3 separate regions of the Homo sapiens genome follow, and regions 1 and 3 are each linked to region 2. The links are contacts of gene promoters, found by promoter capture Hi-C in blood cells and fetal thymus (Javierre and others, 2016). All regions are on one chromosome and are shown on one strand. Each heading gives the region's core, a stretch centred on a gene start or on the middle of the fragment in contact. The rest is flanking DNA. Distances are from core to core; before and after follow the strand shown.

The links. Contacts are between HindIII fragments. The CHiCAGO score rates a contact against its expected background, and 5 or more counts as called.
Region 1: a contact is called between a fragment that was not itself captured here and the fragment with the promoter of FER1L6-AS1 in region 2, in 5 of 17 cell types (M1 macrophages, M0 macrophages, megakaryocytes and 2 more). The highest score is 8.2, in M1 macrophages.
Region 3: a contact is called between a fragment that was not itself captured here and the fragment with the promoter of FER1L6-AS1 in region 2, in 7 of 17 cell types (M2 macrophages, M0 macrophages, megakaryocytes and 4 more). The highest score is 8.0, in M2 macrophages.

Annotation. Positions count from the first base shown.
Region 1 is chr8:124,204,353-124,209,148 of GRCh38, forward strand. LOC101927588 (a long non-coding RNA gene) reads right to left here. Exons shown (of 3, transcript NR_125420.1): 2 at 3,764-3,969. Among named protein-coding and RNA genes, the nearest start is that of FER1L6-AS2, 35 kb to the left of the region's middle. The HindIII fragment of the contact is 1,967 bases long and covers 1,339-3,305 here.
Region 2 is chr8:124,038,850-124,043,192 of GRCh38, forward strand. It overlaps FER1L6-AS1 (FER1L6 antisense RNA 1), which reads right to left and starts at 1,933. Exons shown (of 6, transcript NR_040044.1): 1 at 1,777-1,933. It overlaps FER1L6 (fer-1 like family member 6), which reads left to right. Exons shown (of 41, transcript NM_001039112.2): 20 at 1,033-1,157. The HindIII fragment of the contact is 11,424 bases long and covers 1-4,343 here.
Region 3 is chr8:124,224,393-124,229,013 of GRCh38, forward strand. The region is part of intron 1 of LOC101927588 (a long non-coding RNA gene); the gene reads right to left. Among named protein-coding and RNA genes, the nearest start is that of FER1L6-AS2, 55 kb to the left of the region's middle. The HindIII fragment of the contact is 1,460 bases long and covers 810-2,269 here.

The DNA of each region.
Region 1 (4,796 bases), core at 1,072-3,571, 170 kb after region 2:
CATCACCCAGTGACAGAGCAGGCAGTGGGCGTGGCTCTGAGCCTTTACTGTCTCCTCCCTCTGCGAGGAATGCCAGGGGGAGCTGTAAGCATCATTTAAGGGCACTGTGGTCCAGGACACAGGCTTGGGAGTTCTACATTGTGTATTTGTTTATTTTTGAGAAAGGAAAGAGAATACTACAAAGACTGAGCATTTATCATGTGCTAGGTGCTGTGCTATGTGCTTGACATACATGCATTTATCTCATTTAATAGCATCTCAGTGACCTGGCTATTATTATTCCTACTTTACAAAGAGGAAGCTCAGGATTAAAGATTTAAGTAATTTGCCTAAGGTAATTCACCTAATAGGTGGGCATGGTAAATGAAACAATGCCGCTTCTCAAATGCTCATGTCTTTTTTTTTTTTTTTTTTTTTGAGACAGTCTCTCTGTCACCCAGGCTGGAGTACAGTGATGCAATCTCAGCTCACTGCAACCTCCGCCTCCAGGGTTCAAGTGATTCTCATCCCTCAGCCTCCCAAGTAGCTGGGATTACAGATGTGCACCACCACGCCTGGCTAATTTTTGTATTTTTTGTAGAGATGGGGTCTCACCATGTTTGCCAGGCTGGTCTCGAACTCCTGACCTCAGGTGATCCACCCACCTCGGCCTCCCAAAGTGCTGGGATTACAGACTGAGCCCACTGTGCCTGCCTTCAAATGTCCATGTCCTAATCCCCAGAAGCTGTGACTATCTTAGATTCCATGGCTAAAGAGAATTAAAATTGCCGACGGAATTAAGGTTGCTAATCAGCTGACCTTAAAATTGGGAGATCCCCTGGTTGATCTTTATAGGCCCAGTGTAAGCAGGAGGGTCCTTAAAAGTGGAAGAGGGAGGCAGGAGAGGAGAGGCAGAGGGAGATGTAGAAGATATAGAAGAATGGTCAGAGAGAGGTAACATTGCTGGCTTTAAAGATGAGGAAGGAGCCATGAGCCAGGGAATACAGGCAGCCTCTGGAACCTGGACAGAAGGAAACAGATTCTTCTCTAGCTTCTCCAGAAGGAGCAGAGCCCTGCTGACACCATGATTTTAGCCCAGTGAGATCTGCACCAGACTTTTAACCTATATAACTACAAGAATATTAATTCGTATTGTTTTAAGCCACTAAGTTTGTGATAATTTTTTATGATGTCAATAGGAAACTGATACTGTGGGATACCTTGAATTTGACCTTGGGCCTGCCTTACTGAAAATTTGTGCTCCTATTATACCAAATTGACCTGGCTTTGAAACCTGGTTCCATTTGTTAGATATGTGATTTGGGGCACATTAACAGTGACAGAAAAATAGGCTTTACAAGCTTCTTTGGATTTGAGAAGTACCATATTTGATTGTGCGCCCCAAATTTATTTATCTGGTGACCTAAAAGGCTGATATTACCCTGATATTTAAAGCAAGAAATATTCTCCTAGATGGCACCATTCAAGCAGCTCAGACTTTCAGCTCTTATAATCTTTGATGGTTAACACTGAGTCTCAACTTGATGGGATTGAAGGATGCAAAGTATTGTCCCTGGGTGTTTCTGTGAGGGAGTTGCTAAAGGAGATTAACATTTGAGTCAGTGGACTGGAAGAGGCAGACCCCCGCTTCAAGCTGGGTGGGCACCATCTAATCAGCTGCCAGCACGGCTAGGATAAAAGCAGACAAAGAACGTGGAAGGACTAGACTGGCCTGAGTCTTCTGGCCTCCATCTTTTTCCTGTGCTGGAGGCTTCCTGCCCTCAAGCACTGGACTCCAAATTTTTCAGCTTTTGGACTCTTGGACCTACACTACTGGTTTGCCAGGGGCTCTTGGGCCTTTGGCCACAAGCTAAAGGCTGTACTGTCAGCATTCCTACTTTTGAGGTTTTTGGGACGGCTTCCTTGCTCCTCAGTTTGCAGACAACCTATTGTGAAACTTTACCTTGTGATCATGTGAGTCAATACTCCTTAATAAACTCCCTTTTTCTTTTTTTCTTTTTTCAGACGGAATCTCGCTCTGTCACCCAGGCTGGAGTGCAGTGGCACAATCCTGGCTCACTGCAACCTCTGCCTCCTGGGTTCAAGCGATTTTCCTGTCTCAGCCTCCCGAGTAGCTGGGATTACAAGCATGCGCCACCACGCCCAGCTAATTTTTGTATTTTTAGTAGAGATGAGGTTTCACCATGTTGGTCAGGCTGGCCCTTTCATATATACATCTGTGCTATTAGTCCTGTCCCTCTAGAGAACCCTAATACATAACCCAATTGATGAAGTAGGTTGGAAGTACCAGTGTTATTAGAATTAATATCGTAAGGCTCTTTGGGAACTGCAGTAAGCCCTCATAGGAGAATCATAGCAGAGGCCCCTGGTTTTAGAATAAAACCATGTTTCTTAGGCAAATAACAGCTCTCAGCTTGTTTCTGGGCCATGGGAGAAACTTAACAGAGTAGTCCCCCTGCCTTATCAGTAAGGGATACATTCCAAGACCCCCAGTGGATGTCTGAAACTGTAGATAGTACCAAACCCTATGTATTTTGTTTGTTTGATCTAATAACCAAGATGGCTGCTAAGTGACTAACAAACAGTAGCATACACAGCGTTAATATGCTTGACAAATGGAAGATTTGTGTCCCGGGCAGGATGGAATAGGACAGAGCAAGATTTTGTAGAGTACTCAGAATGGAGTGCAACTTAAAACAAATGAGTTATTTATTTCTGGAGGTTTCCATTTAATATTTTCAGATTGCAGTTGTCCATAGGCAACTGAAACTTCACAAAGTAAAACCATGAGTAAGAGGGGACGATGTACCTGGCCATGCAGCACCTTGCTACTTAAGCAGCTTATTATGAACTAAGATATTGTTTCAGAAAGAGTATTCCACTAACACCCAGAAACTTCCCTGAGGTATCAGCACCTTCTGGCACACATGTCTTGGCAAGATACAAGTGAACCTGCTCCTTCTGCTCTCCAGACTATCCACAATATGTCATCAATATAACAGACTCACAGGATACCCTGCAAAATGATAAGATGAGAAAGTCTCCTATGTACTAAGTTATGGCAGAGCCAGAGTTGACATAACTTTGAAGCAAAATGGTGAAGATGTACTGTTGCCTCCTCTAGGTAAAAGCAAACTGCTTCTTGTTTTTGTCTTCTCATTGGGATAGCTGAAAAAGCATTTTGCAAATTAATAGTTGTATATTAGGGACCACGGGCTTTTGAGGTTTTGGGACTTTGTCAATTTGCTTCAATAAGGAAATCACAACTTGGATCAGTGACTGCAATAGAAGTCTCTTCCTGATTAAGCTTTTGATAGTCCACTGCTATTTTTTAACCTCCAAGTATCTTTCTGTACCAACTAAATATAGTGATATACAGAAATAACCACTCATATATATTTCAAGTCTTTGGTGATGCCACACATTTCTGCAGTTCCCTCAGGAAAGGGTGGCTGCTCTTGATTTACTTTTCTGGCAGGGAGGGGGAGCTTTCATTTTCTCTCTTCTGCAATAGTAGCCTTTATTTATGGGTCCCAGGGGCAATATGGAATTCTACTATGGAATTCTACCAAGCTGAGCCTCTATGATTCCATCAGACACTACAGGACTAGAGAAATAACCACAGGGTGAGCTGAAGGCTCTAGTGAGTCTGTTGCAAAGCAGCCTACAATAAAAATAGAGTGGATCACCCGACACTGGGTATTAGTTATCTATAGCTACGTCTCAAGTTACCCAAAACTTAATAGCTGAGAACAGCACTTACCATCTCACAGCATCTGTGGTTCAGGAATGCCGGAGCAGCATGGCTGCATGGTCCTGGCTGAGCATCCCTCCCAGCCTGCTGTCATCTCAAGGCTTCCCTGAGGGATGATCCACCTCCAAGCTCAGTCACGTGGTCGCTGGCAGGCTGTAGTTCTTTGACATGTGGGCCTTTTTATGCCTCACAACATGGGAGCTTTCTTCCCCCAGCTGAGCAATTCAAGAGAGTGTGAAAGAGAACCCAAGGTCCAAAAAAAAGAAAAAAATCTTTTTATAACCCAATCTTGGAAGTGACATTCCCTAAGTTCTGCCATATTTCATTTACTAGACCAAATAAACCCAGCCCACATTCAAGCAGAAGGGATTCCACAAGGGTATGGATACAGCAGGCAAGGAATGCTGCACTTCATTTTAGAGGCTGGCATTACTCTGATTATTGGCCCACAGTAGTGTGCTAAGTCCCCATGAATTAAGGATAGCTCAAAGTCGGCATCATGAACCCTAAAAATCTGTGTAACTTCTTTCCTCAGAATAAAATTACCCTGGTAAATGACTGCAGGACCCTTTCAGAAGGCTGGAGGGAAGATGTGCTTACATACTTGAGATGATTTTGGAGGGTCTTCCTCAGGGTACTCAATCTTCCACTCATTCTAAGTGTTCTCAGTTCTCTAGCTTTGTGAACTGACTCTATTCTCTTTTGATGACTTGATGGCTCAAGTATGAGCTCTAGTTCCCAGAAAAGGAGAGGTGTTTTTGTTGTTGTTGTAGTTTGTTTCTGATGGGGGTCTCACTCTGTCACCCAGGCTGGAGTGTAGTGGCGCAATCTTGGCTCACTGCAAACTGCGCCTCCCATGCCTCGGCCACCCGAGTAGCTGGGATTACAGTGCCTGCCACCATGTCCGTCTAATTTTTGTATTTTTAATAGAGATGGGGTTTCATCACGTTGGCCAGGATGGTCTCAAACCCCTGACCTGAAGTGATCTGCCATCCTCAGCCTCCCAAAGTGCTGGGATTACAGGCAGAAAAAGAGAGTTTTA
Region 2 (4,343 bases), core at 683-3,182:
TACCACTCCCCAAGTCTGCACAAAAACAGACACACTGAACACAGTGGCTTTGGGGGAGTCCGTGAAATGGGAGTGGGTAAAGAAGTAAAAAGGGATAAGTGAATATAAAAACCAAGAGGCGCCCTGCAAGGGGCAGTGATCAGAAAGTACCATGGACCAAGGACTGTGATGAACTCAACTCTTACTTGAGGTTTCCCCACTGAACCCTGAGCTGCCCCAACCTGAGGCCTCCTATCCCAGCACAGTGTGCTCACTCCTGTCCTTTACCCCTGTGTTCCTTGCCAGCATTCTCACAGGACACTTATCCCTGACCCCCTGCCTGTGATGTGGGTGCTTGTCTTATCTTCTGCCTTCTCCCAGGAGCTCTCCAGGGGCAGGGACTGTCTTGTTACCACAGAATCCTCAGAGATCAAGACTGTACACAGTAGGTGCTCAGAATGACCCTGGCTGGCTGAATGGAAAATGAGTCAATGGATGACTTGAGACATATATTGTGTTTACTGAAGTGAAAACTATGTGGAGCAGCCCCTTTCACACACACAGGCACACACCCACACATGCCCACATGCACACACATGCACACACTCATGCCTGTATAAACAGGAGAATTACTGGGGAGTAAAATTTGATATTTTAGAAAGAGAAGAGGATTTTAGAATCAGAAATAAAATCGATGCTCCGGCATGGGTTAATTGTGCAAACTTTTGAAAGTCTTTTAACCTGGTTGTGGGCCATTTTTCCTCATCTATGAAGTGGAGAGCATGCTATTTCGCATGGTTTTAGTGAAGAATAAGACACATAACCTGGTGAAAGCACCAAGGAAGATGGCTGGGTTCAAAGTACCCCATAAATATCACCTCTTCCCTTTCTTCAGGACTTCCATTCCTGTCTCAGAGGAGGGTGGATGTGGCTGGTGGTCTCCTTTTGTCTGTCTGTGGATACATAGATGGACATCACACACAGACACACATGTGCACACACTGTTCTTGAAAAGCCCACTAACACCTGCCCCCTTCCATGATTTGTCCACAGAACAGCATGTTTTTCAGCTGAGGGCTCACATGTACCAAGCCCGGGGCCTCATCGCAGCTGACAGCAATGGACTTTCAGACCCTTTTGCCAAAGTCACGTTCCTTTCTCACTGCCAGACAACAAAGGTAACCAGGGTAACCAAGACAGCCTGCTTCTTTCCTGCAGCCTGCAACTGACCCACAGAAGATCCCAGGAAAGAAACAACGGGGGCATGTTGCAAATACCTGCATCTTTGGGTGTGTAGATGTTTCAGACTGAAAAGCGAATATGTGCCCAGAAGGACTGGTGTGGGGAAGGTCTATTGTTTCAGTGTGATTCATTGTCCTAGGGCAAAGGATGCAAGTCCCTGAGGCGAAGGAAGGCTGGGAGAAAAAGAGGAATGAGGCGGAGAAGGCTAAAGTGCCAGGCACGAGGCCAAGTGCAGTGGGGAAGGAGCAAATGAGGAAACAGCACAGATCAACCTGCAGGAGGTTTATGATCCAATCATTATGAAGGGGTCTCAGTGGGGAGAAACATTTTCCAGTTTTGTGGTCAAGATGCGCTAGACTTTGCACTCACCAGCTGGGGAGCTTCGCATGCTTTTAACATCTTTATGCTTCACAGTCCCCCTCCTCTGGAAAATACTACTTCATAATGGATATTGTGAGTATTAAGGGAGATGGGTTGTCTTAATCCATTTAGCATTGCTTATAACAGAATACCTGAAACTGGGTAATTTCTAAAGAAAAGGAAATTATTTTTTACAGTTATGGAGGCTGGAGGTCCAAAGTTGAGGAGCCGTATCTGATGAGGGCCTTCTTGCTGGTGGGACCCTGCAGGTTCCGAGGCAGCACAGGGCATCACGTGGCAAGGGGGTGGAGCATGCTAATATGCTCGCTCAGGCCTCTCTTCCTCTTCTTCTGAAGCCACCAGTTCCCCTCCCATGACAGCCTATTAATCATAGATTAATCCATTTGTGAAGGCAGATCCTTTATGACCCAAACACCTCTTAAAGGTCCCGCCTCTCAATACTGTGACATTAGGGATTAAATTTCAACATGAGTTTTGGAAAAGACAAATATGCAAATCATAGTATGGGTCTGTGCCTGTTTCCTCTGTCTTTCTCCCTATCCTATACAACTAGTACTAAAATGTGAAAGGATTCCTAATCAGCAAAAATCCAGTAGGATGCTTGTCTCATTAGATTCTGTTCTTTAAACATTTATTCTGTTCTCTGATTTGTGGTTTGAAAAGAGGAAAACTCAGTAAAGAATTGCCCATCTCAGGGAGTTAAGCACCATGGGTTAGCACACACAGTGCCCTAAGGTTACTTTCTAGCTCATCTCCTCTTTGGCTGCATGTCTTTGGGCAAGTAACACAACTCACTAAACCTCAGGTTTGTCATTTTAAGATGGGACTGTCATGAAGAAGCAGATATTTAAGTTTATAAAATGATTGATAAATGATGGCCATGACATTGGCTGATGTTGAGAGGGCTAACATTGTTCTCCAGGGCAAAGCCCATGACCTCGATGATAGAGTAGACTGCATTTTGATTTATGACTCGCACACTGACAGCGTGATGTGAACCAGCCTCACATTCATTGAACCAGTGCCTGTCGGGTGCTGGCTTTTTGCCAGGCCACATGCTGGGCTCTGGAGGATGAGAGGAACCAGACTCTGCTCCAGTGTAATATACAATCCAGGCATGGATGCAGGCCTCATGACACACGAGTCACTACACTATGATAAGCCTCAGGGTGCAGGGCTGTACAGAGTCCTACAAGAGCCAGGTAGAGAAAGGGTTAGTTCTACCTGGGGGAGAAGTCAGGAGACACCTCAGAAGAAAGGTGACTTCATCCTCATTCAGTGACTGAGCATAAAAATGAGAAGACAACAGACTGCTTTCTCTTTCCTGTGTTTTGAGAGTTAGTATAGAGCATGGTGATGATGAGTATAGACTCTGGAGCTGCGCTGTCTGGGTCAAAATCCACGCTCTTCCATTTATCAGCTGTGTGACTCTAAACAAACCTCTGTTTGTGCCTCAATTTCTTTATCTGTGAAATAGGGATGATAACCTTGTACATTCCTTCCAGAGGATAAAATACCCAGGACAGTACCTTGCTTAAAACTAAGGCCTATGTGACTGCTTGTTGTTGTTGTAATTGAGGCTTCCTTCCTACAGCAAGGGAGTTCTCATAGGATGGACCCCTGGAGCCCTCCTCCACCTGCCACAACACTGTGGAGTTCCAGGGCCTTAGTGAAGTACAGGATTTGGACTAAATCCTTGGTCTGCTGTGTAATTATCCTTGTATTTTGTATCTCCATACAGCATCTTCATTTGATTTACATCCATATCTCAAAGGAACAGATGGCTTTTATTTGTCAAATAATTATTTGAAAGGGAAAATAGGTTCTGTTGAGTTCTGGACTCTGTCTCCATAATTTTAAGCCAAGTACCTCATTTTTGTTAATAATAATAGCTGCTATTTACTAAAAGCTCCCCACGTGCTGGGCACAATGCTTAGCATTTTATATGCATCATTTGCTACATCTCACTGCAGCCCAAAGCTGGATGTTATTAGTGTCTTCATTCTACAGATGAGGAAGGTAAGGCTCGGAAGCGATATAGCTAGAAGATGGTGGAGCCAAGATGGAAACCCAGGTTTGTCCAATTCCAGAGTCACTTTGCTTAACCACTCCACTTCCATTTTCATAAGAAAGGGTACCAATTTCCCTCTCCTGTTTCACTTCTGCGCTAACACAGAGGGACTTGTCTGCAGGTGACATGCCCCCTTTATGTATTTTTAATGATGAGGAAAGCTGAACCTGGGCCCCTGCAGTCATAGCCGAGTGCCACTGTTCAGCTGGTAGCACTCACCTGACCACGCGGGGCTCAGGGAGAAAAAGCCTCCGAAGGCTGTTCCTGAAAAACCAGTGCTTTATAAAGTGACTTAATGGAATGAAATATTTCAAAGAGGGGAATCCAGTCATTCCCAACATCACTGGGGATATGGGACATAGAAATCTTGTGATTGAAATACAAAGGGAAGGAGAGAAAGCTCCGACAGAGAAAGGCTTCTGGGATGAAAGAGGGAAACAGACTAAGTGGCTAAGAGGGAGCATTAGAGGAGAAGGGGAGGAAATCTTAAGAGGGTGAAGCACGGAACCTGCCATTTGCAACAACCAGGCTGGGGCTTAGTCCTGAGGACATGAATGGTCTCTTACCCCAGTGCACCAAGGCTGCCATGTGGCAGGCGTTCAGTAAATGTTTACTCATTTATAAAAGAATATGGGCTGGGATCGGGTAGGATGGGTAACAAGCAATTATT
Region 3 (4,621 bases), core at 290-2,789, 190 kb after region 2:
AAACAAACAAAAGATACTTTCCTCATACTGAAAAGCATTCAACAAAATTCCATACATGTTGGTGATTTAAAAAATAAAAAATGAAACTCTTGGAGCCAGCCAGGAGCAGTGGCTCACGCCTGTAATCCCAGCACTTTAGGAGGCCAAGGTGGGCAGATCACCTGAGGTCAGGAGTTCGAGACCAGCCTGGCCAACATGGTGAAACCCCGTCTCTACTAAAAATACAAAAATTAGCTGGGCGTGGTGGCACGCATCTGTAATCCCAGCTACTCATGCAGCTAAGGCATGAAAATCACTTGAACCTGGGAGGTGGAGGTTGCTGTGAGCTGAGATCCTGCCACCGCACTCCAGTCTGGGCAACAGAGCAAGACTCCATCGCAAAAAAAGAGAAAGAAAGAGAGAGAGAAGAGAGAAAGAAAGAAAAAGAAAGAAAAAGAAAGAAAGAAAGAAAGAAAGAAGGAAGAAAAAAGAAAGAAAGAGAAAGAAAGAAAGAAAGAAAAAGAGAAAGAAAGAAAGAAAGAAAAAAAGAAAGAAAGAAAGAAAGAAAGAAAGAAAGAAAGAAAGAAAGAAAGAAAGAAAGAAAGAAAGAAAGAAAGAAAAGTCTTAGGAAACTTGGACTATAAGAGAATTTCCTAAATCTAATAAAGGTGTCTACAGATCCTTAAGAAAAGTACTGACAAAATATTCAAAGTATTCCCTGTAATTTCTGGAGCAAGAAAAAAGTTTTTCACTATTACTATTCATAAAATTATTCCAGAAGTTTGGCAAGTACAATAAAATAAGGCAAAAAAGATTTCAGATTCCTTAAAAGCTTAGCTTTTAAAATCACCAACATGCTAACTGCTTTCTAATGCTACTTTCCAAACATCACTCATCCATGACTGTGGGTTGGACTTTGCTCCATTACAGGCCAATGTCATTTCCATTTCAGTTCATGCCAGCTTCTAATGTCTATTCCTGAGCCAGTCCCAGGCAACCTTTTCTATACTATGTCTGATGCCCATAGCTTTCTTGTGTTTGATAAACCCAGCAGAGTCTATGAAAACCACCAGAAAAAAAGGGAGTTTGAAGCAGCTGTATTCATACAGTTTAGTACAATCACTGGGATGAGATTTGGACTTGGAAGTTATCATTGAGAATGAATCCTGACCCCATACTTTCTGAGCACTGGGCTTTAGTTAAGCTGTTTTATTCCTCAAAGCCTCAGTTTCCTGATCTGTAAAATGGAGGTATAATCCCTTCATTGTCAGATTTCTATTATATAAGGATAAAGTAAGAAAATGTAGGTAAATTACTATTATTTTCAAGTGCTCCATGATACACATACACACACACACACACGCACACATGCACACACACAGAGAGCAGCCTATCTCTCCCATTAGGACTATGATAATGGGAGTTCATTATTTTGGGCACTGTGTATTATCCCCAGTAACTAGGATACTCTATATGTTTAATGCTCTATATAATGAAAAACTGGGCAGATGGATACATTAATGACAATTTTTTTTTTTTTTTTTTTTTTTTTTTTGCTTTGCTTTGCTTTGCTTTGCTTTGCTAAGCATCTCCAGGATAGAAAAGCCAATGGGAAAGAAATGGACGTAGAAACCATGACTTGGAAGCAGAAGTTGAGTCAAGGACACACCTGCAGAGAAATCACTCAAAACTCCCACAGCATCAGGCTCTGCCAAGTTTTTGTCCTTCATTCCTCAGAGTTTGATCTTCAAGCACAACACGGCCACATGTTTCCTTCACAGACTTTTACAGTCTTCAAATCCTTCTCGTGAACATATTGTCATTAGATTTTTGCAATAGCCTGCTAAGGTAGGAAACACAACTATTAGTGTCCTCATTTCACAAACAAGGAAAGTGAGGTTTAGAGAGGCTGAGCAAGCTGCTCTGATGTCTCACCAAGTGCTGGTTCCATCATGTGGCATGGCCTGACCAATGCGAAGCAGGAATGCAAATAAGAATCATATTGGCTGTGAGAAACTGCTTTTCCATTGCAACAAAATCATGGAGACTGCATCCCAGTCTTGTGTAACAAGCAGGAGGCTTCCAGGAGAGGAGCTGAGGTTCTAATTCTGAGCCTGCTTTTATTAGCTGCCATTTGGCTTGGAGAAAGGGAACTACGGGACTTCACAATGAAAAAGATTGGAGTTTGAATCTCGACTCTGTCACTATCTGTATAACCTTAGGCAAGTTACTTTATCTCTTTGAGTCATAGTTTTGCAATCTACAAAAATGGGATGATATCCAATTTTGAAGCTTAATTGAGATTACTTAGCAAAGTACCTGGAATCTAGTTGGAGTTCTATCAATAGTAATTCTCCATTTTCTCTTCCCTACTCATTTCTTCCTTTGTGAACTGGAAAGAAACACTATACCATAAGAGCATGGACTTCAGAGCCAGGCGGCCTGGGTTTCAATTCTAGCTCAGCTATTTGTTGGCCATGTGATCTTGGGCAAATTATTTAACCTTGCTGTGCCTTAGTTTGCTCATCTGTAAAATGGGGATAACGATAGTACTGACCTCACAGGGTTGTAATGAAGATAAAATGAGTTAACATTTGTAAAGTGCTCAGAACGCCTACTGGCATAGAGTAGGTGTTATATATATAGTTTTTGAATAAAAAATAACCAGGCTCACAGAACATTTGTGAAAAAGACACCTGTGAAAATATTTTTGAAAGTTAAAAGAGCTAGACCAAGAAAGAGAAATACTAAAGCATCTCTCTGAAGCAACAGGAAGTATGGAGTCCTTACAATTTCACAGGCACTGCATAAGATACAAAACGATTAGGTCAGAATCATTCATTCAGCAGACATTTGTTGTGTGCCTATTACGCACCAGCCATTTTGCTAAGCCCTAGAGATACGATGGTTAGCAACAGAGCCAAGGCCATTGCCCTTGTACAGCTACCATTCAGAGGAAAGGGAGTTGGAAATTTTAGGAAAAGGGAAAAAATAAATCAATAGGACAGCTACACTTTGTAATAAGTGGTTAGAAGGAAACAGATGCTTTGCTGTGATCATGGACAATGGCAGGAAAGGATGCTTTAGATAAAGGCGTCAATGAAGGTTTCTCCAAAAAGATGACACAGGCTGAGACCTAAAGGCTGTGGAGGTTTTGTTCATGGAGCTTAAAACAGTCTAGTGGGGTTGGGAGGATCCCACAGGAGCATAAATATGGAGACTCTAACGGAACCTTCCTCACAGGATGGTTCTGAGGAGTAAACAAACTGTAGTATGAGAAACGCTTGGCACAAGGCCTGGCGCATAGTAAATGCTAAATATCCTTACTGTCTTCCTGGGAAAGTGCATCACTCACAGCAGCACCCGTGGTCCCTGCATGGTCAGCTAGAGCACCGTTCTGGGGCCAGCCCCACCTGTCTGAACAGCATCCACTCAGGAATTCATTCAGTGACTCACTCAAACCAAGACACATTTATTTAGTGTATTTATGAGCCACCTAAAAGATATAAATGATACAAATATGACTCCAACTCTGCCCTCCAGGGACTCACAGCCCAGTGGGAGAAATAGAAACATGCAAATTCCCAAGGACGCAGCCTGGCGTCTAAGGAAGTAACGCTGTTCACTTTGGAACTGAGGATGGGGTGGCCTGTAGATTCTCACAAGACATGGGACAGTGGGTCAGGAATGTCTGGCTACGTGGAGAAGGGGTTGCCACATATCAGATGAGCTTCCAGTTTGCCAGCGTGCTGGATCAATGAGTGATAACGTAATACCTGGCCCATTGCACAGGGTCCATGGGCAAGCCCTGGGGCATAGAGTTGGGAGGGATGTGAACCCAAAGAACAGAGAATCCAGACACCGAAGATGGACAAACTGTCACACCCCCATCCCAGGGCAAGAGTGCAGGAGCCAGAGAGCATAAAAAGCATGGCCATTCTCGCCCAGCTTCAGAGGAAACCACAATCCAAAGGTGCCCCTAGCATTCCAGCTTCCAGTCCTCTGCTGACTTTGTCCTCTGACTGGAATTCTCTTTCTGTTCCCCATCTTCCAGATTCAGTGCCCAGCTTGCAAGTTCCTTTCTGTTTCTCTAATTGTTACAGTCTGCAGTCATCACCACCACCCCCTCAAACTGTCACAACATGTGTCTGCAAGACTCAGATCCTTCTTTCATCAGACCATCATGTATTAGGCACCTTTCAGTGCTAAGTGCTAGAGATAGAACATATGCAATATACTGTCCAGGGTGCCAGGAGAATCAGGCAGACATCCTGCCCTTAACACAAGGTCAGCACTGAAAGAGACACAAGTAAAGGGAATGGGACAGTGGCAAAGAAAAGATTTCATGCTTCCACTGTTTCCTGTTTCCCCACACCACATTGCCAAGTCCTTCTTTCCTTCATTTATTTGTTCATTGAAAAATATTTACTGAGTGCATGCTTCCAAGTGATTAGAGCACTTCAGTGAATAAAACAGACCAAACTGATCAGTGAGGTGATATTTTAGTGAAGGCATGAAAGAGGTAAGGAGACAATCACATGGACATCGGAGGGAGGAGTGATACAGTGCAAAGGCCCTGAGGTAAGCAGGGTCTAGGACCTGAGGTCAGAGTGGCTGGAGCAGAGTGAGCTTGGAGAAAGTA